Linked DNA regions of Homo sapiens: all the other regions are linked to region 3. The links are contacts of gene promoters, found by promoter capture Hi-C in blood cells and fetal thymus (Javierre and others, 2016). All regions are on one chromosome and are shown on one strand. Each heading gives the region's core, a stretch centred on a gene start or on the middle of the fragment in contact. The rest is flanking DNA. Distances are from core to core; before and after follow the strand shown.

Region 1 (4,520 bases), core at 1,886-4,385, about 15 Mb before region 3:
CCTCCCAAGTAGCTGGGACTACAGGCGTGTGCTACCACGCCTGGCTAATTTTTTGTATTTTTAGTAGAGATGGGGTTTCACCGTGTTAGCCAGGATGGTCTCGATCTCCTGACCTCGTGATCCGCCCACCTTGGCCTCCCAAACTGCTGGGATTCCACCGCGCCTGGCCCATTTTTAATCTTTATATACTGCATTTTCACTGTATCTTTTCTGTGTTTAGATATGTTTAGATACACAAAGTCTTACTACTGTGTTACAGTTGCCTATGGTAGTCAGTACAGTAACATGCTGTACAGGTTTGTAGCCTGGGAACAATAGGCTGTGCCATATAGCCTAGGTTTGCAGGAGGCTATACCATCTAGGTTGTGTAAGTATACTCCATGATGTTCATACAAGGACAAAATTGTCTAACCATGCATTTTTCAGAATGTATCCCCATCATTAAGCAACACAATTGTAGCTTCCTAATTGGTCTCTGTGCTTCTTCCCTTGACCTCCCTGCTCTTTCCTCATTCGTCCTCCCATAGGCCATTCTCATCAGAGCAGCCAAAGCTGTCTTCTTAAATTGTAAGCAGATAGTATCACTTCCATGCTCAAAAACCCTCCAGCAGCTTCCCATCTCACTCAGAGGAAAAGCCAAAATTAATACTACGGGCCATAAAGCCCAATTTGATCTGCCCTCCTCCCATCCACTTACCTTTCTTCTCTTCTCTCCCACTACTCTCCCCTTCAATTATTCTATTTTAGCCTCTTCATTAACAGGCATGTTGCCACTTCAGAGCCTTTACAACTGCTGTTCCCTCTGCCTGGAATAACTTTTCTCACTCACGCATAAATAGCTCCTTTACTTCCTTCATATCTTTATTACTACCTTTTCAGGATGCCTTCCCTGGCGAGCCCATCTAAAACTCAGACTCCTATCTCTAGTTCTAAATATCCTCTCACTTCACATTTTTTCTTAGTATTCTTCACCATTTAAAATACTTCATACTTAATTTACTTACCTTGTTTATTATCCAGCCCACAAAAATGTAAGTACCATGATAGTAGGGGGTTTGTCTCTTGTTCACTGCTATATCCCAAGCACCTAGGATTGTGCCTGTTACACAGACAGCCTTCAATAAATGAGTCTATGAATGAATGAATCCTTAATATATGAAGAACTCTGGAAAAGAAATTTGAAAACAGAACACTACTTTAGAAAACATATAATTTACAAAAGATTTTTTTAAATGCTTGACTTCAATAAGTAATGAAACAATTGTTTTAGAGCAAATTAATTTATATCCATGAGGTTAACAAAGATTACTACTATTTAGAATATCCATTGTTATCAACAGTGTATGAGGATATAAGCAGTCTTATACTATGCCAATAATACTGCAGATTATTGGAACTTTACAGAATAATTGGATAGGTTCTGGGAACCTTTAATAAAAGCATACATTTTAACCTATCAATTCTACTTTTAGGAGTCTGCTCCCCCTCCAAAAAAATTTAGAAAAGTATATTTAAACACGTGCCAAATAGTTGCTGATAAACACAGTTTATAATTTCAAGAAGCTACAGAGAACTAAATCACCCATCAACAGGGGTAAACGTATACCATGAAATACTTTAAAATGAATGCATAATTTGTGATTGTTTAAATGGAAAGATACTAATCATACATTGTTAAACAAGAAAGGTTGGTTACAGAGCTGTATGTATAGTGTTACTGCAATTTTGAAGCCATTATGCACACATATAGAACATATGAATGTATACGTATGTATACACAAAGGCGGGGGTGAAAAGATGGAAAGTAAATTTTGACAGTAGTTGCATGGCCTGTAGAACTATGAATGATTTTTGTTCTTCGAGCTTTTCTGTATTTTTCTCCACCCCACTCCACTCCCCAAATGGGGTGGAGTAGGGAAGGAGGAGAATGAGTTTAGTAAGTACACAAAACAACGTAGCTAATACACGAAAATAAAATTAAAAATAAATAAATATTAAAGTGTTGGGGATATCGATGTTTCATATAAAAACATATTTCCGGCCGGGCGCGGTGGCTTACGACTGTAATCTCAGCACTTTGGGAGAACGAGGCGGGTGGATCACCTGCGGTCAGTTGTTCGAGACCAGCCTGACCCACATGGAGAAACCCCGTCTCTACTAAAAATACAAAATTAGCCAGGCGTGGTGGTGCGCCTGTAATCCCAGCTACTCGGGAGGCTGAGGGAGGAGAATTGCTTCTTCCCAGGAGGCGGAGGTTGCGGTGAGCCAAGATCGCGCCATTGCCCTCCAGCAGCCTGGGCAACGAGAGCGAAACTCCATCTCAAAAACAAAAACAAAAAAACAACGTATTTCCAATGACCAAAGCTAAAGACATGCAGCGCTGGCACAAACGCCAAGTCTCACACATCTACACCCACAAGCACACCCTACCTTGTATCCACAGTTTTTCATTCATTCAAGATCCCACTGTCATGCACGTTTGCACGCAGGTTCATACTGAAAGATAAAAGGGAAAGCGCCTCCACGAAATCCGCTTACGGACACGATCCCGGGGCCACACTCAGCCAGACGAATGTCTGGCAAATGACAGTCACTTCACGCCAGACTCTCACAGTCCTTCACACGCCACTCCCACTGCCTCAGGGAACCACAAGCACAGGCATCGCCCCGCCCGGCGTCCTCCTCCAAAGATTGGGGCACCAGGACCGCGGGCCCCCACTCCCACCCAGCACAAAGAGTCCGGCGCTCAGAGCTAGCGGTTTCCCGAGGACTCACCACCAAGCCCGCGGACACAGGCCCCGATTCCACACTTAACGCTGCCAAAGTGGCAGAGCCGGCGCGGGCTGGGACAGAGGCGGCACTGAGGCCGGCGCTGTCGGTGGCTGAGAGCGCCACAAGTCTCGGTCCGTTACACCAGGGGCGACGCTTCCCAGAGGCCCCCGCGGCTCACCCGGGCGGGACTGGCTTCACTGTTTGCGCGTCCTGAGAAGCAGACCACGGTGTTCCAGGGCTCACAGCTCCGCGCAGGGGAGCTCAGCCTAGGTTTTGCACGAGCGGCCTCCCGCGAGCCCAGCTCTGAGAGATTGGGAGCGCAACTTGGTGCTGAGAAGAATCGAATCGTTCCGCTGCTTCCTGCGCCGAACTACATTTCCCAGAGGCCTTCGCGGCCCTACTTCCCCGACCCCACCTGCAAAAAGGCACTTCCTTCTTACAGTCGGCTGGAGCTGCAGGTTCGCAAGGTCCGTGAAGGAAGCCCGGCTCAGTGTGTTTAGTTCCGTCTTTTTGGGTCTCTACCTGAGGCTAGAATACAGCGGGGTGAAGGTGGTGAGAGCTCCAGGGCCAGTGAAGGCCGGGTCAGCTGGAGCCTTAAGGTCCTGACAGCGGCTAGAAGAGGGAGGAGTGACGTAGTGTGACTGTATGTGTGAAACTTCGGCCATGGAATTTGGAGTGGGGTTTCCAGGGCGAGAGACCCTGTCCAGTGACATCTGAGGTCGTGCGAATATGCGACCTTTTGTGTGACCATGGTCGCGTTTTATATTCTCGTGGCTGTTTGATTCTGACCTTGCAGTTTTGTCAGAGACAATGTGCATGTATTTGTTCTTTCTGGACTTCTCGATTGTGAGTGTGACAGTGTTATTGGATTTCATGACCCGGGATCGTGAGCGAAAAGTAGTGTGGCCAGACCGCCTGACTTCTAAACAGACTTGGCCTTACTAGCTGTGTCATCTCAGACTAGGTACTTAACTTCTCTATGCCTTTCGTGTTTTTTTTTTTTTGTTTGTTTTGTTTTTTTTGAGGCAGAGCCTCACTTTGTTGCCCAGGCTGGAGAGTGCAGCGGCGCGATGTTGGCTCACTGCAGCCTCGAACTCCCGGGCTCAAGCGATTCTCTGCCTCGGCCTTCCGAGTAACTGGGACCACAATCAAGGGACACTCCGCCCGGCTGATTTTTGTTTGTTTGTTAGTAGAGATAAGGTCTCGCTATGTTGCCCAGGCTGCTCTCGAACTCCTGAGCTCAAGCGATCCTCCCGCCTGGGCCTCAAAAAGTGCTAGGATTACAGGCATGAGCCGCACGGGGCCGGTCTTAATACCTTTAATAAAGAGATAATAGGCCGGACGCGGTGGCTCACGCCTGTGATCCCAGCACTTTGGGTGGGCAAAGCGCACGGATCATTTGAGGTCACGAGGTTTTTGTTTGTTTGTTTTTTAAGACGGAGTCTTGCTCTGTCGCTCAGGCTGGAGTGCAGTGGCGCGATCTCGGCTCACTGCAACCTCCGCCTCCTTTCGCCTCCCAGGTTCAGGCAATTTTTCTGCCTCAGCCTCCTGAGTAGCTGGGACTTAAGGCGCGTGCCACCACGCCCGGCTAATTTTTTTGTATTTTTAGTAGAGACGGGGTTTCACCATGTTGGTCAGGCTGGTCTCGAACTCCTGACCTCGTGATCTGCCCACCTTGGCCTTCCAAAGTGCTGGGATTACAGGCGTGAGCCACCGTGCCAGGCTGAGGGTAGCGGGTGGGAGACTGC
Region 2 (4,656 bases), core at 2,007-4,506, about 15 Mb before region 3:
CTTAAAGGTCAGCAAGGTCAAAATGGGTTATAAGGACATAAATATGAAACTGGCATTTCATAAACAAACAAGACACCTCAGGCCTATGAAAACTTGTTGCCTTACTATTCCCTTCTCTCTGCAGTCTTCCTAAGGTGTAAGTTTTTCTGGATTTTGTCTGCTTCCACAGTTTAGGTTCCTTGGCTCACTTCCTTGCTCCAAAACCAACGTCTCTATTGACTTTTATATTTTAAAATTAAATTTTAAATATATGAGTGATGCTACCTTGCTAAAAGAGAGAGAGAGGCCGGGCGCGGTAGCTCACGTCTGTCATCCCAGCACTTTGGGAGGCCAAGGTGGGCAAATCACGAGGTCAGGAGTTCGAGACCAGCCTGGCTAAAATGGTGAAACCCTGTCTCCACTAAAAATACAAAAAATTAGCTGGGCGTAGTGGCAGGCGCCTGTAATCCCAGCTACTCGGGAGGCTGAGGCAGGAGAATCACTTGAACCCGGGAAGCGGAGGTTGCAGTGAGCTGAGAGCGCACCACTGCACTCCAGCCCGGGCGACAGAGTGAGACTCTGTCTCAAAACAAAAACAAAAACAAAAACAAACAAACAAACAAAAACAGAGAGAGAGGGAGAGAAATGACCTATAATGCTTAAGTTCCCTTTGACATTTACTTCTCCCCCTTTACCCTAAATCCTCTCTTCTCTCCCTAAAGGTTACCATTAGCAGGAGTTTTGTGTGTATCCCTCTATAAAATATATACTATTTTTATACTAATTATATCACATAGTATTCTAACAAATCCTTCTCAGTTCCTGCAGTCTACGTTTCTGATGGTCTTAACCTTTTTTAGCTTAAAGTACCTCTTTGTGAATCTGAAAAGCTGCCTATACTTTTTTTAAAAAAATCACATATCAACACATATAAAATGTCATAAGTTTAATATACAAGAAGCCCATCCACATGGAATCTATTCATCTCAGGTGAACAACTGTTTTTTACTTTTAAGTGATAGCTTCCTTTTTCTTGCAAGCACTCATCGTAACTATTCAAAAGCCAAAAGTAGTGACCCAGAATCACACAGATGCGGCTCAAGATCAATGCATGCTGTTCAATTTGAAACCAGAATGTGTCTGTCACCTCCTAAAAAAAAAAACAAAACCCAGTATATATCTCCCATATATAATTGGACATAATTCTTTTTTATTTTTATTTTTATTTATTTATTATACTTTAAGTTCTAGGGTACATGTGCACAACGTGCAGGTTTGTTACATATGTATACATGTGCCATGTTGGTGTGCTGCACCTGTTAACTCATCATTTACATTAGATATATCTCCTAATGCTACCCCTCCCCCTACCCCCACTCCCTGACAGGCCCCAGTGTGTGATGTTCCTTACCCTGTGTCCAAGTGTTCTCATTGTTCAATTCCCACCTATGAGTGAGAACATGTGGTGTTTGGTTTTCTGTCCTTGCGATAGTTTGCTAAGAATGATGGTTTCCAGCTTTATCCATGTCCCTATAAAGGACATGAACTCATCCTTTTTTATGGCTGCATAGTATTCCATGATGTATATGTGCCACATTTTCTTAATCCAGTCTATCATTGATGGACATTTGGGTTGGTTCCAAGTCTTTGCTATCGTGAATAGTGCCGCAATAAACATACGTGTGCATGTGAATTGGACATAATTCTTGCCTGACTTTGACCCACTCTAACTCAGTGCAATTTAATTATCTATATTTCACATAGCTATGCCTGATCACACACACAGGTTCATTCCCTCAAGAATTCTGATCACCAAATTTGCTATTCCAGTCACATTACCGGTAAGAGATCAATGTATTTGATATATGGTCTTGCAAGACCAAGTTTTATTAATTTTTTTCCCTCTGAAGGAGTGGTGAAATTATACTCTATCTTCTCTGTGCTGGAAGTTCACAAGTTTTTGATTATTCAAAAATCATAAAAGGCCAAGAGGTCTTGAAGTAAGTAAAAATAAGTTCAGGTTTACCAACAAACTCTACAGCCTTAAGTTACTTTCTGCCGGCCAAGGTTTTCTCATCAGAAAATGAGGACAAGTGTTTGACCTAGAATTTGGGAAATCTGACTAGTGCTGTACTGTGCTAAAATTCACTCTTCTTATGTATAACGTTGTTTTATTATTTTATTAGTTGATGGCCTCTCAACCGTACCCAGTAATAAGAGAAACTTTACCCTCTAATTAGAAAATAATGGATATCTACTTTTGGCCTGCTGTGGCAGAGGAAAAGGCAGTTACCCTAGGACTGGTTTTGAAATAATCTTTCTAAAAACAAAGAAAAAACTACGTTAATTTTGGATTCTTCCCGATAACACATATATTTGATCCAATAGAAAAATGATGTCTAAATTACTTGTCAGATAAATTGATTATCTTTTCCAGATTATTACATTACTATTTAAGGAAGAAATAACTTGGCCATAGTATTTTCACTGTCACACACGATCACACACAGCTCATTTGCTCTTGGCACCCTTACAGACACTGAAATACAAGCACAAAGAAAGCACGTTTATATAACACAGATCACCAGTTACTCAATTACGGCCACACACAAAAAAGCAGATATACATACAGATACCCTTCATAAGCAAACCACAATAGAGATCTGTGTAAAATCGTCTTACTCTGTTAGACGATTCTACACAGTTATAAAATCCCATTACTACGCAGCTTAAAGTACAAATCACCTCACACCCCACAGCAGGAAGAATCACACACAGGCAGAAACACAACCATACACACCCGGCCACGGAAAGACTCTCAGTCCACCTGGCATCTCCCATTGTCACACACACCCCAAGGGCCTGGGAGGGCACACACAGGGTCCTCTGCAAATCCGAGGTTCCGGCGGGTCCCCGCACCGGCCCCAGCTCCTCCCCCGCACCTGCCTGGCCGGCGGGTCCCACCCTCTCTCCTGCCAGGGGTAGACCCTGGGACCACTCAGCTCGCTCTCGCAGGCCCTGAGCGTCTGACGCCTGCGCACTGAGCGCGGGCGGGCGGGCACTCCCAGAAACCTCCGGGGCGCTGCAGGCGGGACAAGCAGGTTCCACAGGCCGAGCCCACGAGCCCCTCGAGGGGTGAGCGGCCCGGGCCTCCTGGCGTTCTGGCCGGCTAGCCAAGCGCTGGACTACATTTCCCAGAGGCACGGCGTCCGGAGCGCTGGACTACATTTCCCAGAGGCACCGCTCCCGGAGCGTAGCTTCATTTCCGTTAGTTTGCGAGATTTGGAGGCCTCGCGTGGGGAGAGGGCCGCGTCTGTGGAGGAGCTTGGCTCCGCACCTGCTGGGCTGGCGAACCCGAAATTGGGCTTGGAACCCGGGAGCCAGATCTTGGACCCTGAACTGCACCTCTGTCAAGGTAGGAGTGTCCGGGATGCCGGAGCGGACACGCGCGGAGAAAGCGTCGCTGGGGTTACTCGTGTGGCCGTGTCTCCGGTTTTGTGTGCAGGCTACAGCCTGCCTGGTATTGGCGACTGCCTGTGCATACACGACTGGACGTGTGTGGCTGTGGTTTTGTGTATGAGCATTTGTATGAGTGTGAGTTGTGACTCTGAGGGTGTTTGTGACTGTTTGCTTACCTGGCTGGGATATACTTATGTGACTGTGATTTTATGTGTGCCGCGTGTATAATTGGGGTTTGCCTGTGACTATGAAGTGTGTGACAGTTGTGACAAGAGTGTTTGGATGTTCTTGTGTCACTTTGAGGTTGTGTGTAAACCTGATATCGTGGGATGGATTTGCCAGTAAATTTAAGGTGTGTGACAGTGTTGCTGTGACACGGTGTTTATTACCGCGTGTTTCCCTGATTTCGTACTGGGTTGGGTGACTGTCTGATTGTGTGTGACTGTGGGGTTGTGTGTGCTGTTTTCATGACTGTGTAAAGAGACTAAAATTGCAGCTTTGAAAGGGTGTTTTTGGCGGTATGTGTCTCTGACAAGGTGCTTGGATGTAATTATATGCCTTGTACTTAATGGGATTTTGTTTGAGACAAGGTGGTCTAACAATGTAGCATAATTGGGTGATTGTGCCTCTAGCTGTGTAACTGTGGAAATGTGATTATGTGTGACTTTATGTGGCCATTTGTATATTCTGTGACCTTATGGGGGTTTAGTCCAGTACAGAAGTAAATTTCTTTTTGGTATTTCTGGGGTTCATTTGGGGCTGAGGTCTGCCTATGGATTGTGAGTCCCATGTGGCTCTGTGCTCCTCCCATGTGGCTCTGAGGACTTAAGGACTTTTTGATTTGACCACAGTGGCTGCCCTTTCATCCATGGCCTGTATTGCTTCATTTCTGTATCCATCCTCGGTTCACCTTGGGAAATGTAGTTACTTACGAGTTCACGACTTCTTCCCTGCGTCCTCTTGCCTTATAGCCTTAAGGGGATTGGGTGCAGGGAAGTGGCAAGAAGTAAGGAAGTCAGACATTTGGACACCTGAGTGATGAATAGGAGTTATTTGCAAGTTACAGACCTGGTCTTAGGATGAGAATTTTAGGGCTGATAATACCTTCAAGACAGCCACTGGATGCTGTGCGCGGTGGCTCACATCTGTAATCCCAGCGCTTTGGGAGGCAGAGGCGGGTGGATTACCTGAGGTCATGGTTTCACCATGACCTCTACT
Region 3 (4,288 bases), core at 120-2,619:
TAGTCCAGGATCCCAGTGACCTAGGTGAGAAGTTGGTACTCAGATCAAAGAAAAGTTCTTCAGGTGACCCCACTGTCTGCAGCCAATGGGCCTGCTTGTGGGCCTTATGTATTTGTGTTTCAAAAATAACCTGAGGGCTTGATGTGGGGGTCCTTATCTCCCATGCAAGGTGATTCATGCCTATAATCCGAGCACTTTGGTAGGAGCAGATGGGAAGACTGCTTGAGGCTAGAAGCTGGAGACCAGCCTGGGCAACAAAACCAGACTACATCTCTATTAAAAACAAAGCAACAAACAGTAGAAAATTAGCACAGTGGAGAGGCACAGGCCTTTACTCACAGCTACTCGGCAGGCTGAGACAGGGGGTCACCTGCCCAGGACCCCAGGAAGTCAAGGTTGCAGTGAGCTATGATTGCGCCACTGCATTTCAGCCTCGGTGGCAGAGACCCTGTCTTAAAATTTTAAAAAGTATTAAAAAACTAAGTTGGACCGGGCGTGGTGGCTACTCTGGAGGCTGGGGCAAGAGAATCACTTGAACCCAGGAGGCGGAGGTTACAGTGAGCTGAGTGCCTGCCACTGTACTCCCGCCTGGGGGACAGAGGGAGACGCTGTCTCAAAACAACAACAACAACAAAAAACTACGTCGTTTATGGCTATTTTTATAAGTTACTGGCTTTTTTTTTTTAAAGAATCGGTGACTTATCTTCACACTGGCCTTAGTCCTCCATGCCCAACACGATGTCCCTAGGAAAGTCTCTGGAATTGAGCACAGGGTTGACCTTCACCGTCTAGAGTGAATGGGGAAGATAAATGAAAAGTATTTATCTTCTATGGGCACTGGCATGAAATAGAACATTCTACCCTGGCAGGGTTTTGCATTTCACATTTTAGCTTGCATCATCCCCTTCACAGACAATTCCAAAGTGTGTTAATTCAATTCCTAAAGCTTCCCTTCCCTTCCTCCCTTCCCTTCCCTCCTTACTTTTCTTTCTTGTCCATTTATTTTCGGTTTTTTTCTCTTTCTTTCTTGGTTTTCTTTCTCTTTTTCAACTTCTCTTTCTTTTCTCTTTCTCTTTACTCTCTCTCTTCTCTCTCTTTCTGCTTCCAGGGTAGGTGGGACTTGAAATTCATTTTAATAGAAGGAATTTTCGTGGATATAATCTACAACCGATTTTGCTCTGCGCAGGTAAGATCCGTTTTCAGACCAAAACCCTGAAAACAAGCGCAGCCAGTCAAGCGAACGGAAGCGCAGGCCCGGCCCAGGCTTTGTCCCGGCCCGCCCTGGTCCCAGCCAGTCCGGCCTCTAGGATGCGCGCGCAATTTCGTGCAAACCCGGAAGCGGACCGCGGGGGGCGAACGCCTAGAGCGCAGTTTCCGGTAGACCCGGAAGCCGATTGCAGGGAGAAACTGTTTTCGCAGCAGTGCGTGAGTTTCCCTTTGTCTATGTTAAGTCTAGGCTAGCCAGTTCTTCTCTGCTTCTATACCCGGGAGCTGAGGGGCATGCAGACCTTGAAATCCCGGCACCGCTCCCTCCACCCCGAGTAAATTCAGACATCCTTTGAGAGTCTGGGAGTCGCTTTCTGCGTGTTAAAATCGCTTGGAGGCTGGTCGTGTGCCCGGTCTTTTTGTCATTTACCCACGTAGACACCTCCTATCGTGGGGTTTACCTGCTTCAAATCCTTTAGTAACCCCTACACACGCCCCGCACCACGTAAAATCCTCACTCTCCGTTCCCCTAGCCTCGCCCTTCTTTGCCCCTAGAGCTCAGCGCCCCAACAGGGCACGAGAGGCCTCGTCCTCTGCCCAGACCTGGTTTCTGCAGACTCCACCCCTCTCCTGACCCACTCCTGCCTTTTTGCTCCTTAATCTGGACCCTCTGTTCCCCAGGCCTCCCTTTTCCAGCCACCGGTTCTCCTGACCCCGAGTGTGGGGGGTGACTTCAGTCTCCTGACATCCAGTGTTCTCTCGAGCCAGTTTCCAGCCCACAGAAAATGAGCTCTTCCGGAAGTGGGCATCTTATTCCAATCCCCTCCCTGTGAATGTGTGGAGAAAAAGAGATGGGAACGAGGCAGAGGAAATAGAGAAATTTTGAAAGAGAAATGAAGAATGAGAGACCCATTAACAGAAGGCAAAGTAGAAGGTGAGTGAGGGGTTTGCAGAGGCACAGTGAAAGAAGGTGCCGAGAAAATAGCAGGGGAGAAAAGTAACTGTAAAAATATAGACAAACCTGGGTCTGTAGAAAGACGAAATTCAACAAGATAGGGAAGGCTTCTCAGACAGAGGGGGGAGAGGAGGAGGGATTTGGAGCCAGGTCAGACAGAGCAGCGTGGTGCTGGGACAGCCAGAGGGGGCAGCTGGTCACAAGGAGAACAGGGAGAACCACAGCAGGGGGAGGCCTGGGATCTAAGGGTGCCAGAGAGTGGGGACAGGGGTGTGTAATATCGAAGATGGAATTTAACAGGGAGACCCCAAGGGGAGCTGAGATGTGGGAGGAAAGAGGCAGAAATATATGGAGATTAGGGACAATGAAAGATTGGGCAGAAAGAGGAATAAGAGGTGAAACAAGTTGTAAAAATGGATCAGAACAGGTGGGAGAGAAGGAATAGAGGGAAGAATGGGACAAAGAGAAGAGGAGGGACTCAAAATGAACAGAATCCTAGGGGAAAATAGAGAAAAAAAGAGCTAGGAAAAAAGATGAGAATGAGAGATATGTACAGAATGAGGCAGGGAAACAGTAGTGAGGAAAGAGGGGGACCCTGGTTACAGATGAGTGGTGAGTTGATTGGAAATTATGATTGAATTGTGACATATTAATTTTTCTATAATATAAAATTTGTTTAGAACACATGAGGCTAGGAGCTGTGGCTCACACGTGTAATCCCAGTACTTTGGGAAGCTGAGGTGAGCGGATCACTTGAGGTCAGGAGTTGAGACCAGCCTGGCCAACATGTGAAACCCATCTCTAGTAAAAATACAAAAATTAGCTGGGCCTGATGGCCTGCGCCTGTAATCCCAGCTACTCTGGAGGCTGAGGCAGGAGAATCGCTTAATCCTGGGAGGCAGAGGTTGCAGTGAGCCGAGATCGTGTCACTGCACTCCAGGTTAGGTGACAGAGCAAGACTCCATCTCAAAAAACAAAAAACAAAAAACCACACATGAAGATGAGAATTGGAACACTATTTATAAGGCACTCTTCTCTTTTCTTGGGATGGACTAGGGTGTGAGTGTATAAGTTAGGAAAAACCAGTGTGTTTTTGTGTTCACAGTGAACACAATAAAGAGCGCTCAACACAGAATGCCTCATCTCTGGTCACCAAAGTAATATGGGAATTACTTGTCACCAACAAGCAGTTCTTCGTCAGACAGCACCTGGGTGTTCTGTAATTTTACTCAGTTTAACTGGTCAGTGTAGGAACAACCACAGACACATTTTGATCACTAAAGGTGAGGGATTCTCCTTTGGGTGTGAGAGTAGTAAAAACAGTGTGGTTTTTTCCTGTCTCAAACAGTAAGGGGAAGAATTTTCCAACAGGCCCACTCACCTGTCTCTAGGACTGTGTTCTTAGTAGTGACTGGGAATTGTCTGTCCCTGCTCCTGGCTGCTGCTGATGCTGAGACTGTGTGCCACAGGCCAGCCCCATTCACTCTCTCCTGATGCCACGGCATCCCTCCTCCACAGTGTCATCAGATTTTACTTCAAGGGAATTATTTTGGTCAGCATACCCAGATGGAGTTGTTGCCCATTAAAACACACACACACACACACACACACACACACACACACACGCCTTTATTTTTTCCACTATTTCATCCTCAGAAGAAAAAACAAAGTATTAGCTACATTTTTACTTGCAATAAGTATGCCTTTTCTGTGCTCCATGTAAGAGCACAATATACCAAAATCTTGTTTAGGCGCTCTCTCACTCTTTCCTCCATTTCTTGCTTGACCCCATCCAATCAGGTTTTGACACCAACCATTCCACTGCTCCTTTTTTTATCTGAGTCACCAGTGACTTCTCTGTTTCTAAATCTAGTTATTTATTTATTCATTTAATTTTTAGAGACAAGGTCTTGCTCTGTCACCCAAGCTGGCATGCAGTGGCACAGTCATAGTTCACCATAACCTCAAACCCCTAGACTCCAGCAATCCTCCCGTCTTAGCCTCCAGAGTAGATAGGACTATGGGCCTGTCCCTCTGCGTGGCTGATTGAAAAAAAAATTTTTTTTTTTGAGACAAAGTCTCACTACATTGCCCAGGCTGGTCTTGAACTCCTGACTTCTAGCCATC

What was found. The method cuts DNA at HindIII sites, captures the fragments that hold promoters and counts their contacts. A CHiCAGO score of 5 or more calls a contact.
Region 1: a contact is called between the fragment with the promoter of ZNF569 here and the fragment with the promoter of ZNF528 in region 3, in 1 of 17 cell types (total B cells). The highest score is 5.5, in total B cells.
Region 2: a contact is called between the fragment with the promoter of ZNF420 here and the fragment with the promoter of ZNF528 in region 3, in 5 of 17 cell types (total CD4 T cells, non-activated CD4 T cells, total B cells and 2 more). The highest score is 7.7, in total CD4 T cells.

Annotation. Positions count from the first base shown.
Region 1 is chr19:37,464,309-37,468,828 of GRCh38, forward strand. It overlaps ZNF569 (zinc finger protein 569), which reads right to left and starts at 3,136. Exons shown (of 6, transcript NM_152484.3): 1 at 2,776-3,136; 2 at 1,005-1,165. It also overlaps a transcript of ZNF570 not described here. RefSeq lists an enhancer at 2,957-3,006. The HindIII fragment of the contact is 12,295 bases long and covers 1-4,520 here.
Region 2 is chr19:37,075,177-37,079,832 of GRCh38, forward strand. It overlaps ZNF420 (zinc finger protein 420), which reads left to right and starts at 3,257. Exons shown (of 5, transcript NM_144689.5): 1 at 3,257-3,394. It overlaps LOC105372390 (a long non-coding RNA gene), which reads right to left and starts at 3,021. Exons shown (of 2, transcript XR_001754095.2): 1 at 2,922-3,021; 2 at 1-1,129. RefSeq lists a silencer at 2,713-3,002 and an enhancer at 3,093-3,332. The HindIII fragment of the contact is 14,557 bases long and covers 1-4,656 here.
Region 3 is chr19:52,396,480-52,400,767 of GRCh38, forward strand. ZNF528 (zinc finger protein 528) reads left to right here and starts at 1,370. Exons shown (of 7, transcript NM_032423.3): 1 at 1,370-1,425; 2 at 1,888-2,140. It overlaps ZNF528-AS1 (ZNF528 antisense RNA 1), which reads right to left and starts at 1,278. Exons shown (of 7, transcript NR_125345.1): 1 at 983-1,278; 2 at 716-788; 3 at 131-273; 4 at 1-20. It also overlaps a transcript of ZNF880 not described here. RefSeq lists an enhancer at 682-1,881. The HindIII fragment of the contact is 5,447 bases long and covers 945-4,288 here.